Linked DNA regions of Homo sapiens: regions 2 and 3 are each linked to region 1. Evidence: promoter capture Hi-C in human tissues and cell types (Jung and others, 2019). All regions are on one chromosome and are shown on one strand. The core of a region is centred on a gene start or on the middle of the fragment in contact, and the rest is flanking DNA. Distances in the headings are between cores, read along the strand shown.

Region 1 (4,833 bases), core at 1,404-3,903:
ATGTTTTAAATAGAGAATGGGGTCTCGCTATGTTGCCCAGGCACTTCTTGAACTCCTGGACTCAAGCGATCCTCCTGCCTCTGCTTCCCTAAGTGCTGGGATTACAGGAATGAGCCACTGCACCCAGCCTGCACAGTACTTTTTAATATGAAAGAAATAACTGCCCCCAAAACAGGCAAACAAAAAACCAAAATGTTTAAAAGCAAAATGAAACCTGGAGTCCCACTTTGTCTAAGAAAAGGAAAATGAAAACAATTCATTTGGATAACACAGATTTCAAACTTGACTGGGGAACACTAGGTTGAGAAAGATGCTGAAAACATGATGTACAATTCACACTGCCATCCAAATGAGAAAAAAACCATTATTTGGGCACATTCTTGTGAGAAAACAAATGGCAGTAAAAATGATTCTCAATAAACTGTGCCCACTCGGCTACCAAAATCAGAAACTCTTGAAGGTCTCTCATAATTTATTGCCACAGATCACATTCTAGACACACTTTCCTGTGTAACAAATATTTTAAAAAAGAAAAGGTATGTCCTTCATTCATAGGAAGCTGAGACTATGCCATACTATTCTAGAGACACGTTTACAACAAAAATCTATTCAACAAGGCTCTCAATAACTTCAAATTCATATTTGTAGACCAACATAGTTTTTTGTTTTTTGTTTTTGCTCCATTAAATGTCATTCGTTTTCATTGGCAAGCTTGAGCTGGACTCTTCAGAAAGTTCTAAAGAAATAACTGTAAGAGGTACACATGCTACTACTCAATAAAAAGCCCTTCTATGTTCAAATCCCATAACCAATATTAATTAATTTGTGCACTGTTACCCTTCCAGCTCAAAGACGGGAAGGAAAAACAACAGTGCCTCTGTCTCTAGAATTTGATGGCACCAATTACAGCCCAATCCAATTAAGCAAGTAATGCACTCCAAAAGGGCAAGTTCACCATTATATTCAGGGCGACCGGCCTGCCGTTACTACTACGCTAGGAAACACCCCAGGCTTAAAAGCAACTCACTTCTTTGTGGAATACAGAGCAACCACATGTTCCAGACCTTCATTCTCTGCCCAGAAAGGGGGAGAGAGAGGGCTTGTCTGGGACAAATGAGTGTCCATGGTGGACTGGACCCGTTGAACCAAGTCATTATAAAGAAAATTCAGTAACCATGGACAGATGATCCTGGTACTGTATGTGGGTGTGAGTGTCTTCTAAGACATGTGATTCTTGTCTTAGGGAGTAAGAAATTTTTTTCCCTGAATTATTCGACTTTTTTTTTTTCTTTCTCTGACCCTTTCCCCTTTCTCACCCTGCAAAGGGTGGAAATCTGGATATCAGCAAACTGGCTGCAGGAAAGAAATATTATCTAAGGGGTTGAGAGAGAAAGGAAAGTGAGGAAGAAAAGACAGACAGCTATTGCATGAAGAACGTGTGTGTTCCTAATTGAAGGAGACGGAAATTTTAGGCGGCAGGGAGAGGAAGGAATGGCACTAAAGCTAGGTACCAAGGCCCACAGGAAAGGTTTTCGGAGCTTGAACTTCTGACTATGCGCTTACACCAAGGACCACAGCGCTTTGAAAGATGTGCAATGCTTTACGCAGGACAGTTGGCTGTTACTTGGAGACCCTTGGGGAAGCTGTCAAAGCCCCCAGGACAAGTCCCTATTCCCCCCCTTCTTCGCTCTGCAAGGAGAGCGGCGTCCTGCACCAAGGAAGGAAAAAAAGTTTCTCTCCGCTCCAGACCCCACTTCACACAGTGGTGTGCAAGTGTGTTCGAGCATGAAGACAACAACGGGCCGGGTCCCGCAAAGAGGCAGAACCGAGTGTACCGTCCGATCCGGGAGACCCGGCCTGAGATTCCGGCAAGGTTTTCTTCCCCGGGCCCGGACTAGGATGTTGCGCGCAGCCAGACAACTTTTCACCGCCTGTTCTCGCCTGCGGAGGCACCTCCTGCCTGCCAACCCCAGGCGCCTTCCCACCCCAGCCTCCCAAGAGCCTGAGGGTGTGTCGGCATCTCAGGACATGCTCCAGCCGAGGTCCCTGTCGCAAACCAGAGTCCTAGAAAAGGAACTGGGCTAGAGCACAGGCGACCACAGACTCGCTGGGTAATCTTGGGCCAGTCTCTGAGCCTCAGTTTCCCCACTGGTAAATGAAAGATCGCAAAATGTCAAGTCCTGTCCAACTCTCCAGCTCTACGATTCCGAGTTAGATCTGGCTTTCAGGTCCTCTCCGCCCTCACCCGACCTGTCTGCCTTCCTCCTCCAGAGTGGGCTCCTTACCCACAGAGGCGGCCCGGGTCTCCACGCAGAGCCACAGGGCGACGGCCAGCAGCACCTTGCTCTGCATCCTGCACCTCGAGCCGGGCGAAATGCCCAGAACTCGGGAGCCGGTTCTTTCTCCCAGCGCCTGTCTAGAGAAGGAGGCGCGGAGGTGGAACTCGCGGCACCCCGCAGCGCAGGACAGTTGAGCGCACAGGGCTAGGGAGCCCGGGCGCCGACCGCGGCTGCAGGGGCGTCTGCGGGTGCCGGTAGGAGAGGATATCCAGGCTGCCAGACGGACTTTCTGCGGCGCGCAAGTGATGCCCGGCGCAGGCAGAGGAAACGCAGCGACCACACATTGACCGCTCTCCCGGGGTCCCGGGACTCAGTGCAGGGTGGGAGCTGGTGCCGAAACTCTAGAGCGCGGAGGCGGGGCCATGCGGGGCGGGGCCGGAGCGGAGGAGGGGCTCTCCCGTGCGGCCAGCCCCGCCCCTCACCCGGGTACCCGGCGGCGATCTCCAGCTCCCCAAGCCCATTTACATCTCCCCATTTCCCCACACAACTGGACTGCGCTGGGCCCCAAGTCGCCCAGGAGAGAACATCCCAGAGCAACAACTTTGTTTCTGGTGTAAATAAAAAGTACTCGGTAACGGGCGCTGAGCAACTCCAAGATTTAATCGCTTGCCGGTCCCCGAAATTTGGGGAGCATCACCAGGAGCGCTGCGAAGAGCAGCGCTCCCTCACCAGGCGCGTCAAAGTGCAGGACCCTCTTCGCCATCGCGCGCGTCTGAAGTGGCCGAGAATCTGCAGCAGTTTGGAGCCACAAGGGAGAAGCGGATACTCAGCCAAGTATGCCGGGTCGCAAGCTGGCAGCGACTCCTGCCAGTAGTTTTGGTTTTTGTATAAGGGTATTTTGTTTGGCCAGTATAATTGTAGTTTAAAAAGCTGAATCTGGTTGCTCTTAATCAGAAAACGCACTTGCCCAGTTCGCCAACATTCCCGCTATTTCCCAAAATATTTGGCGGCTCCAAGTTTGAAGTGACCTGCCTAGCCCCAAGAAGGCTTTTGTCCATCGTGCTCCCCAACGAAGAGCCCTAGTGAAAGTTTGGCCATGCCCCTTTTCAGAGCAGAGCTTCCAGCCAAGATATCCTTAGTCCCAGGGGAAGGAGGCCAGCTGCCAGCGTGCTTCAGTGGAGGAGCAATGAAGCAAAAGCACCTAGGACACTCTGTGACCAAATTGCACAACTGTCTCCACGTGTGTGGACTTCTTGTGGCAGCTGTTTGGAGGGGAACTCCAATTCCTTCCTGACCACATTCGTTCCTTCTGGTTTTCTGTCCATATCTCCCCACACCTGGGGAGTGACATCAAATGTCCCCTAACTTCATTAAATATGAATCTTCCAGATGCCTATGTCTTTTACCTCCCAGAGGTGCTTTTTAATGACAACCTAAAGGACCATTCTTCACCAAGATAAACACACAGAATTATTATATCTACACCTAATTCAAACTAGATTGATTGTATACAATTAATGTAACCTGTTACTTATCTTCATCTGTTTTTAAATATTTACTGTATTCACGCTTTTACTTTTCCAAGTTGACAGGTGAAATATTTTAATGCTGAAATATAATGAATGTATATGGCAAAAAAAAATTTTGGAAAAACACAAAAAGGCTTAGAGTGAAAAGACTTTTCTTTTGGCAGAGGCATTTTTATGTTTCCTTTTTTTTCCAAGCAGATTCTTAAACACAAGTATGTAGACATGTCACCCTTCTCTTCCCACAATTGCTTGGTATAAATGCTATTTGAGCCTTGGCTTTTTTCCCTTTAAATTTGATTTATTTATTTGAGACAAGGTCTCACTATGTTGCCCAGGCTGGTCTCCAATGCCTGGACTCAGTCCATCCTCCTGCCTCAGTCTCCCAAAGTGCTGGGATTACAAGCACGAGCCACCCTGCCCAGCCTTCACTTTATAATATACACTGGAGATTCGTTCTACATCAACCTTTAAAGCTCCATCTTTTATTTATTTATTTATTTATTTATTTATTTATTTATTTTTATATAGAGGCAGGGTCTCACTATGTTGCCTAAGCTGGCTGCGAACAAAGCTCCATCCTTCCATCTTTTCAATGTTGGCATAGTGCTCTACTATATAGATGTACTCATATTTATCTGGGAGGTATTTATTTGGGGAGGGGAGAGAATCTTTAAAGAAACTCCTCTCTTCCTGCTAGTAAACTCAGCAAATAAAATAGGATGGACTCTGGCAAAGTTGGATAAAGGGGTGGGAGATGGAACCTGGTTTGGAGAGGGCAGTTTTTCTCCATCCCCATCACCAAACAATTCCCTATCAGCCTTATTTACAGTTCATGACACTTCCTCTTCCATGTCTCATTTAAGAAGATAGTGTCTCCTCTGAATGCAAACCAGAACCTGCAGGCCCGTGGTAATAGCCCCCTTTAGAAGTCTTGGAGGAAATGATGCGTCTTTGATGGCCGCAAGACCAGAATTTGGCAGAGTCTCAATGAAATCAGTCTACCACATTCCCTCCCACACAGCACT
Region 2 (4,833 bases), core at 754-3,253, 59 kb before region 1:
CTGCTTTGTGAGGTGATAAGTTTTCTTATTGTTAAAACCAGTAGTTCCCAACTTTTGCTATGATTCAGAATCCCTAGGGGGATTTAAATAACACTGATCCCCAAGTTTTCCTAGTGTAAAGTCAGGGTCTTCAGAGGCCAAGCGCTCTGAGTCAGGGTTTTCTGTTAGTGACATCAGAAAGCATCTTGACTGATATAGACACCTTTGAGGATATCTCCACCGTTTTTGTTGTTGTTATTGTTGTTTTGGGTTTTTTTAAAACCTTCAAAGCAGAGATTTGTTTTGAGATTTTCACACCTAGGTTCCTCCTGGAACTGAGATCTTGGCTTCTAAAGTGCAGCATTATTGATTTCTTCTGTTTCCCGGGCATTTATAGCGAAACCCATCCAAAGCCAATTCCAGGTGACTTTGGATATTTGTAACACATTAAGGATTAAAGACGTGAAAGAACCTGCTTAGTCATTTAATAAAAGTATATATTTTATGTTTTCCAGAAATACTTTGTAAAGAGTTACCTTTTTACTGTATTTTTAGCAAATATTGAGTTTGGGTAGGACTGTCAAATGAATACAGTATTTAAATATCTCATGGTTTTGGTTGGTACATTGTGGAAAGTACAGGCCTTTACAATCTTCATACCTTGAGTTTCTATAAATTCCCAACAAACTTCAAAAAGTTTTTTTTATGCAAGTACATTCTTAAAATCATGTTTAGCAGAGGGCTGTTATAAATAGTACCTTTTTAAAAGAGAGTTCAACAAGCTCTCGGATATCTACTGCGGCATCAGTTCGTAATACACATCATTGAAAGTACCATATCTGAACAGTTGGTGGGTGCAACGGCATAACAAAGCTGTCTCTTGAGATAAATAGTAAAAAAAAAAAAAATCACAGAATCCCAAATGAGAATGACAACTCCAAACTGGCCCACCACTCTCTCTGCCCTGGCCCTGGGAGTACACTTGGCTGAGGAGACAACTATGCACCTTTCAGGCACTAACACTTCCCAGTCATGGCTGTACCATCAGCACAAGCTGTGGGCTACCAATAAAATATAATAAGCCAGACCCAAAAATCTCACGATCACTGTGGGAACCCGGTCAAGCCCACCATACTACTGATGGTTTTTGTGCCATTAAACAGCAAGTAAGTTAATAATTGCAGCAATTTATCTCAATGCTCCCTGCTGCTTTTAGTGCTTAACTCAAATATAACGTTCACCAGCTTCTGCCAGTAGGCAAGATGGAGAGCTTTATCAGAAAAAGTAAAGATCGCTTTGTGATTATTATTTTGCCTTAAGGCAAAGCTACCCTTAAGTGCCCCCACACAGCTCCTGGTGGGACGTTATCTCACGAAGGCTCTGGAAATGAGCACTATGGCATTTAGAAGATTTCCATCCATGCCTGCCCCACCCCACCCCCAACACACTTTTGAAAAATTGAATACGGTGCTGTCTTAAATCACAGAAAATGGCAATTGATAAGATATAGAGTAAGCTATGTTTTCCTCCCAGCATAGCCTGGCTGACCTGGGCACTCCCTGTTCCAGACCTACCTGGTCCTTGCTTAGCCGCAAAGGCCACTTACTGTCTTGCCATTCTATGTCTATTGCTCACCTGGTATGTTAAATGTTCAGGACAGTCATACTGTCTCCACGTATGGACTCAGTGTATTACAATACAGAGCTTAATTCTTGCAGACTAAGAACCCAGCAGGTTGCAGAGGTCAGGAGTAGCCTGGGACTAACTTTTAATTGAGTGTCTGGTGGGAGAATCTCTCGTTGTTTAAGAGAAATCATTTAAGCTTCCACTTAAAGTGATTCTGTCCCTAGGTATTTTTTTTTCATCACATGTCAGTGGATTGAAGATTCAGATAGCATCTGACATCAGTGACATCACAGTTTGCCTCTAGTGAATGTAAATTGTATTTGCAAAGAAGATATTTTCAGTAGTCAAATATTTCTGAATGAAAGATGCATGGAGAAGACCAGAAGAGAAAGAGAATGTGAACTTGCAAAAAGGTAGTATCTGTATAACAACCATCTCCCCAGAAGTAACTGCTGCTGCCCAGGCTCCCACACTCTCCAGAGAGCCTTCTACTGGAGGGCTAACTGGCCAATTCAAAGGAAAGAACCTTTCTCAAGATTTTACTTCTTTTTTCTTTTTCTTTCTTCTTTTCTTTTTCTTTTTCTTTTTTTTTTTTTTTTTTTTTTTTTTTTTTTTTTTTTTTTTTTTTTTTTGAGATGGAGTTTCACTCTTGTCGCCCAGGCTGGAGTGCAATATCATGATCTTGGCTCACTGCAACTTCTGCCTCCCAGCTTCAAGTGATTCTCCTGCTTCAACCTCCTGAGCAACTGGTATTACAGGCACCCACCACCATAACCGGCTAATATTTGTATTAGTAGAGATGGGGTTTCATTATGTTGGCCAGGCTGGTCTCAAACTACTGAACTCACGTGATCTGCCTGCCTCAGCCTCCCAAAGTGCTGGGATTACAGGTGTGAGCCATCGTGCCCAGCCAGATTTTACTTTAAAATCCTAAATTTTAACTTGTGATAATCTCCCCAGCATCCCATCCCAACTGTTGGTTATTTGCTTGAGAAGTCTCATTTCTATAAAATATTGAAGAAATCCAAAAATATGATAGCAAGTGCTTTTCACGACTGCTCTGTGCTTTCACCATCTCAAAAAGTTCCCAAACAACGTAAAGTTAATTGTGACATAAAAGCCCCAATGAATTTCCAAAGATCAGGCTAGACCAGGCAAGAAATGATATATGAAAGAACATATTATTATAAGCTCTGTCGATACATCTTTGTCACTTATTTTTGGTTGGTCTTGATATCAACTGGAATCTGAAGAATGGCAGATTTTTCCACAAGGCATTGAGAAATGTTACTAATGAGCCCCAAATTATTTGTTACAATCATAAATTCTGAAATCAGCTTCTGGAGTGAAAACCCAGATCTACTACTTACTAACTATATAACTTTGGACACATTAAGTTAACATGTCTAAACCTCAGTTTCTTCATCTGTAAATTGGTGATAATATTAGTAGCTAGCTCATAGGGTTGTTGTGAGAAATACATTAGATAACAGATATGTAACTGTGTATTACTCTGCCTAGTGAAATTAGCTCTTAATAATCTTAGGTTATTATCATTTTTGTTATTATTGTTAATATTAAATCAGTGGAAATGACATTGGCACATGAAGTGAAAGCCATTTAGCAACTGCTTGGCTAGAAATGGGACTTAGAGCCTCCAGACTGCTAACCCCATGCAAAGCTACAGCTTTAATAGGCTTGCCCAGCATCCATTTGCTGTTCTGCAGGGGAAGCAACCTTCACCAGGATCCTCTAGCATTTCCATGCAACCTAACATCAAAGTGCCAAACCCTGGAATTAGCAGAAAACACTGAGTGGCTGCCGTACTGAGCTAAGGCAGCTATGACTTCTTCAAAGCTGCCTTTTTTATGGAAACAAAAGGCGCCAGGGCCCTTGGTCATTCATGGCTGTGGTTCCTCCATGTCCTGTTTCCTTAGGACCCCGTAAGATCACCCTCCTGATCCATCACTAGTTGCCATTCTAATGATCTATCAGGAAAAGATACCTGCCATTGATTCGGTTTCCCTGGGGTGGACTCACAGTAATTTATGAACCAGCCAGAGTGTCCTCTCCTTGCGGACTTAATACGCTTAACAGCTAATTACATCTGTGTAGGGATTACACTTTACATTGTCCAGCTTTATGAAAACAAACCCTGGGCTTCCTCAGATTCCGTTAAATAGCTCCTTATCTCTAAGGCTGTGATCCTTATCAGTGCCATATGTTTGAGCACCCGTGCAGTTTCCAAATGACTCCACGAACGTCTTCTAGGGTCTAATTAGTCTACAGGCTGAAGGACAGGCCTGAACAGGGTCTCATCCTGAACTAGAAACCAGCAGGCCAAAGCCAAGGGGGAAGATTCCTCCCTGCCTTCTATCCTCCATAAACCAGTCAAAGGTCAAGGGTCCAGACCCGGATGACCACATGTCAATTCTACTCACAAGGTGACCAGCATGTCCGATGTCAACCTTCATACAATGTGGAGCTTGGGTGCTCAAGTCCCAGAGGATCATGGGATATCTTTAGCCAAAGTCAAAGTGAAGTCTTTGTCCTTCCCAAGGATGCTGTGGGAGGACTATTATAATAGTAACACTTGTGTTTAAAGGATAAACGTCTTTGGCTTTTTAACACAAGCTAGCTAAACCCTTCCAACCCCCAAGGAAACAAGTCAATGCTGCTGGCTTCCTTTTGCCACCATGGCAAGGGAGGTCTCCGCAGGGAAGCCAATTTGCCTCACATACTATTTTCTCAAGGCTTGGGAGATTCCCAGGCTTGGCAGACACTAAAAACACTCCTTCCCTTGGCTTATAACAATTCAGCTAAAGACCTTGTCTTAAGAAACTCATGCAAGGAGGTGATGCAGAGTGCAAAGATCAGGAAATGTCTCCCTGTGTGAAGAGCCCGTAGCAGAGGGGCAGGCTGTAGCTTTCCAGCCTGTGACTCACAGAGTCACTTCCCTGCTTCCCCCATCCTGGACTCAGCTCCTTGGCCACTGTGTCTCAGCTCCTCTTCCTGTCTCCATTCCGCCCAGACCCCTGAACAAAGCAGAAGTCTGGAGTCCACGGCAAAGACTGAAGTGTTGTGTATATATTTGGGCGTCATCTGTGGAAGCAGCTATTTTGAAAACAAAAAATAACTTTCCTGCCCTCAGAAGAACTTGGTGGGCTCTTAGAAGTGTCTCATTTAACTGTTTGAGACAGAAAACTTGGTTATCACTCATTGGAAAAA
Region 3 (4,833 bases), core at 1,481-3,980, 43 kb after region 1:
ACAATTTGACATCCTCTTTTCCTCATTGAATACCCTTTATTTCTTTCTCTTACCTGATTGCCCTAGCCAGAATTTCCAACACTATGTTGAATAGGAGGGGTGAGAAAGGGCATCCTTGTCTTGTGCCGGTTTTCTAAGGGAACACTTCCAGTTTTTGCCCATTCAGTGTGATATTGCTGTGGATTTCTCCTAAATAGCTCTTATTATTTTAGGATACGTTGCTGGATTTGGTTTGCCAGCACTTTATTGAGGATTTTTGCATCAATGTTCATCAGAGATATTGGCCTAAAATTCTCTTTTTTTGTTGTGTCTCTACCATGCTTTGGTATCAGGATGAGGCTAGCCTCATAAAATGAGTTAGGGAGGATTCCCTTTTTTTCTATTGATTGAGATAGTTTCAGAAGGAATGGTACCAGCTCCTCTTTGTACCTCTGGTAGAATTTGGCTGTGAATCTTTCTGGTCCTGGGCTTTTTTTTTTGGTTGGTATGCTATTAATTATTGCCTCAATTTCAGAACTTGTTTTTGGTCTATTCAGGGATTCCACTTTTTCCTAGTTTAGTCTTGGGAGGGTGCATGTGTCCAGGAATTTATCCATTTCTTCTAGATTTTCTAGTTTATTTGCATAGAAGTGTTTATAGTATTCTCTGATGGTAGTTTGTATTTCTGTGGGAGCGGTGGTGATATCCCCTTTATCATTTTTTTATTGCATCTATTTGATTCTTCTCTCATTTCTTCTTTATTAGTCTTGCTAGTGGTCTATTTTGTTGATCTTTTCAAAAAACCTGCTCCTGGATTCATTGATTTTTGTCTCTGACAAAAGGGGATTGTGTCTCTGACAAAAGGGGATTGTGTCTCTATCCCCTTCAGTTCTGCTCTGATCTTAGTTATTTCTTGCCTTCTGCTACCTTTGAATTTATTTGCTTTTGATTCTCTAATTATTTCAGTTGTGATGTTAGGGTGTCAATTTTAGATCTTTCCTGCTTTCTCTTGTGGGCATTTAGTGCTATAAATTTCCCTCTACACACTGCTTTAAGTGTTTCCCAGAGATTCTGATTCGTTGTGTCTTTGTTCTCATTGGTTTCAAAGAATATCTTTATTTCTGCCTTAATTTCTTTATGTACCCAGTAGTCATTCAGGAGCAGCTTGTTCAGTTTCCATGTAGTTGAGCGGTTTTGAGTGAGTTTACTAATCCTGAGTTCTAATTTGATTGCACCATAGTCTGAGAGACAGTTTATTGTGATTTTTGTTCTTTTCCATTTGCTGAGGAGTATTTTACTACCAATTATGTGGTCAGTTTTAGAATAAGTGCAATGTGGTGCTGAGAAGAATGTATATTCTGTTGATTTGGGGTGGAGAGTTCTGTAGATAGATGTCTATTAGGTCCACTTGGTTCAGAGCTGAGCTCAAGTCCTGGATATCCTTGTTAACCTTCTGCCTCATTGATCTGTCTAATATTGACAATGGGGTGTTAAAGTATCCCATTATTATTGTGTGGGAGTTTAAGTCTCTTTGTAGGTCTCTACGGACTTGCTTTATGAATCTGGGTGCTCCTGTATTGGGTGCATATATATTTAGGATAGTTAGCTCTTCCTGGTGAATTGATCCCTTTACCATTATGTAGTGGCCTTCTTTGTCTCTTTTGATCTTTGTTGGTTTAAAGTCTGTTTTATCAGAGACTAGGATTGCAACCCCTGTTTTTTTTTTTTTTTTTTTTTTTTACCATCCATTTGCTTGGTAGATATTCCTCCATCCCTTTATTTTGAGCCTATGTGCATCTTTGCATGTGAGATGGGTGTCCTGAATATAGCATACTGATGGGTCTTGACTCTTTATCCAATTTGCCAGTCTGTGTCTTTTAATTGGGGCATTTAGCCCATTTACATTTAAGGTTAATATAGTTATGTTTGAATTTGATCCTGTCATTATGATTTTAGCTGGTTATTTTGCCCATTAATTGAGGTATTTCTTCACAGCGTCAATGCTGTTTACCATTTGGCATATTTTTGCAGTGGCTGGTACCGGTTGCTCCCTTCCATGTTTAGTGCTTCCTTCAGCAGCTCTTGTAGGGCAGGCCTGGTGGTGACAAAATCTCTCAGCATTTGCTTTTCTGTAAAGGATTTTATTTGTCCTTCACTTATGAAGCTTAGTTTAGCTGGATATGTGATTCAGAGTTGAAAATTCTTTTCTTTAAGAATGTCGAATATTGGCCCCCACTCTTTTCTGGCTTGTAGGGTTTCTGCCGAGAGATCTGCTGTTAGTCTGATGGGCTTCCCTTTGTGGATAACCCGACCTTTCTCTCTGGCCACCCTTAAAATTTTTTCCTGCCTTTCAACCTTGGTGAATCTGACAATTATGTGTGTTGGGGTTGCTCTTCTCGAGGAGTATCTTTGTGGTGTTCTCTGTATTTCCTGAATTTGAATGTTGGCCTGCCTTGCTAGCTTAGGGATGTTCTCCTGGATAATATCCTGAAGAGTGTTTTCTAACTTGTTTCCATTCTCCCCATCACTTTCTAGTACACCAATTAGATGTAGATTTGGTCTTTTCACATAGTCCCATATTTCTTGGAGGCTTTATTTCTTTTTACTCTTTTTTTCTCTGATCTTGTCTTCTCACTTTATTTCATTAATTTGATCTTCAATCACTGATATTCTTTCTTCCACTTGATCGAATCGACTATTGAAGCTTGTGCATGCGTCACGAAGTTCTTGTGCCACGGTTTTCAGCTCCATCAGGTCATTAAGGTCTTCTCTACACTGTTTATTCCAGTTCGTCATTCATGTAACATTTTTTCAAGGTTTTTAGCTTCCTTGCAATGGGTTAGAATATGCTCCTTTAGCTAGGAGAAGTTTTTTATTACCAACGTTCTGAAGCTTACTTCTGTCAACTCGTCAAACTCATTCTCTGTCCAGTTTTGTTCTCTTGCTGGCGAGGAGCTGTGATCTTTTGGAGGAGAAGAGGTGTTCTGTTTTTTGGAATTTTCAGCTTTTCTGCTCTAGTTTCTCCCCATCTTTGCGATTTTATCTACCTTTGGTCTTTGAGGTTGGTGACCTACAGGTGGGGTTTTGGTGTGGATGCCCTTTTTGTTGATGTTGATGCTATTCCTTTCTGTTTGTTAGTTTTCCTTCTAACAGTCAGACCTCTGAGCTGCAGGTCTGCTGGAATTTGCTGGAGGTCCATTCCAGACCCTATTTGCCTGGTTATCACCAGTGGAGGCTGCAGAACAGCAAATATTGCTGCCTGAACCTTCCTCTGGAAGGTTCTTCCCAGAAGGGAACCCACCTGTTTGAGATGTCTGTCGGCCCCTACTGGTAGGTGTTTCCCAGTCAGACTACATGGGGGTCAGGGACCCGCTTAAGGAGGCAGTGTGTCTGTTCTCAGAGCTCGGACACCATGCTGAGAGATCCACTGCTCTCTTCAGAGCTGTCAGACAGGGACTTTTAAGTCTGCAGAAGCTGTCTGCTCCCTTTTGTTCTACTATGCCCTGCCCCAGAGGTGGAATCTATAGAGGCGGTAGGCCTTGCTGAGCTGTGGTGGGCTCCGCCCAGTTCGTGCTTCCCAGCCTCTTTGTTTACGCTGTGAGCTACTCAAGATTCAGCAATGTCATATGCCCCTCCCCGCATCAAGCTGCAGTGTCACAGGTTGATCTCAGACTGCAGCGCTAGCAGTGAGGAAGGCTCCGTGGTCATGGTACTGCCGAGCCAGGCATGGGAGGGTATCTTCTCGTTGCTAAGACTGCAGATAAAGTGCAGTATGTGGTCAGGGGTGTACCGTTTCTCCAGGTACAGTCTGTTATGGCTTCCCTTGACTAGGAAAGGGAAATCCCCCAACCCCTTGTGCTTCCCAGGTGAGGTGACGCCCCACCCTGCTTCAGCTCACCTTCCGTGGGCTGCACCCACTGTCCAACCAGTCCCAGTGAGTCGGTACCTCAGCTGGAAATGCAGAAATCACCCATCTTCTGTGTCGATCTCGCTGGGAGCTGCAGACCAGAGCTGTTCCTATTTGGCCACCTTGGAAGTGACCCCGAGTTTTGGCTTTTCTAGGTATAGATGGAATCATACATACATAGACTTTTGTGTTTGAGTTCCATTGCACATAGTTTTTTTTGTTTTGTTTTTTGTTTTTTGTTTTTAAGATACAGTCTCACTGTGTTGCTCAAGCTGGAGTACAATGGCACGATCTTGGCTCACTGCAACCTCTTCCTCCTGGGTTCAAATGATTCTCGTGCCTCAGCCTCCTGAGTAGCTGGGAATATAGGTGAGTGCCACCACACCCAGCCACTGCACACAGCTTTTGAGTCATCGATGTCATTATGTGTATTTATGCTTTGTTCCTTTTAATTGCTGAGTAGTACGACATCACATGAATATACCACAATTTGTTTTTCCATTCATGAGTTCATAAACATTCGAGTTGTTTTCATTTTTTTGCTCTGAATATTCACGTACATGGCTTTTGTGTGGGCATGTTTTCATTTCTTTGGGATAAACAGCTAGAAGTGGGATTGGTGGGTCATATGTTAAGTGTCTGTTTAATTTTATAGTAAACTGCTAATGTTTTCCAAAGTGGCTGTACCATTTCACATTTGCGTATATCTCATTATAACTATTTTTAAAAAGGAAAAACTGGCCAGGCGCACTGGCTCATGCCTGTAATCCCAGCACTTTGGGAGGCTGAGGCAGGTGGATCACAAGGTCAGGGGATCGAGATCATCCTGGCTAACACAGTGAAACCCTGTCTCTACTAAAAATACAAAAAAAAAAAAAAATTAGCCGGGCGTGGTGGCAGGTGCCTGTAGTCCCAGCTATGCAGGAGGCTGAGGCAGGAGAATGGCG

What was found. Contacts are between HindIII fragments. The study calls those that stand out against the background at their distance.
Region 2: a contact is called between a fragment that was not itself captured here and the fragment with the promoter of KDR in region 1, in 2 of the 25 tissues and cell types used here (adrenal gland and spleen).
Region 3: a contact is called between a fragment that was not itself captured here and the fragment with the promoter of KDR in region 1, in 2 of the 25 tissues and cell types used here (mesenchymal stem cells and ovary).

The regions. Positions count from the first base shown.
Region 1 is chr4:55,122,942-55,127,774 of GRCh38, forward strand. KDR (kinase insert domain receptor) reads right to left here and starts at 2,654. Exons shown (of 30, transcript NM_002253.4): 1 at 2,286-2,654. The coding sequence starts at 2,352. The HindIII fragment of the contact is 13,799 bases long and covers 75-4,833 here.
Region 2 is chr4:55,064,936-55,069,768 of GRCh38, forward strand. No RefSeq gene overlaps it. Among named protein-coding and RNA genes, the nearest start is that of KDR, 58 kb to the right of the region's middle. The HindIII fragment of the contact is 4,752 bases long and covers 1-4,379 here.
Region 3 is chr4:55,166,223-55,171,055 of GRCh38, forward strand. No RefSeq gene overlaps it. Among named protein-coding and RNA genes, the nearest start is that of KDR, 43 kb to the left of the region's middle. RefSeq lists an enhancer at 3,509-4,338. The HindIII fragment of the contact is 3,718 bases long and covers 872-4,589 here.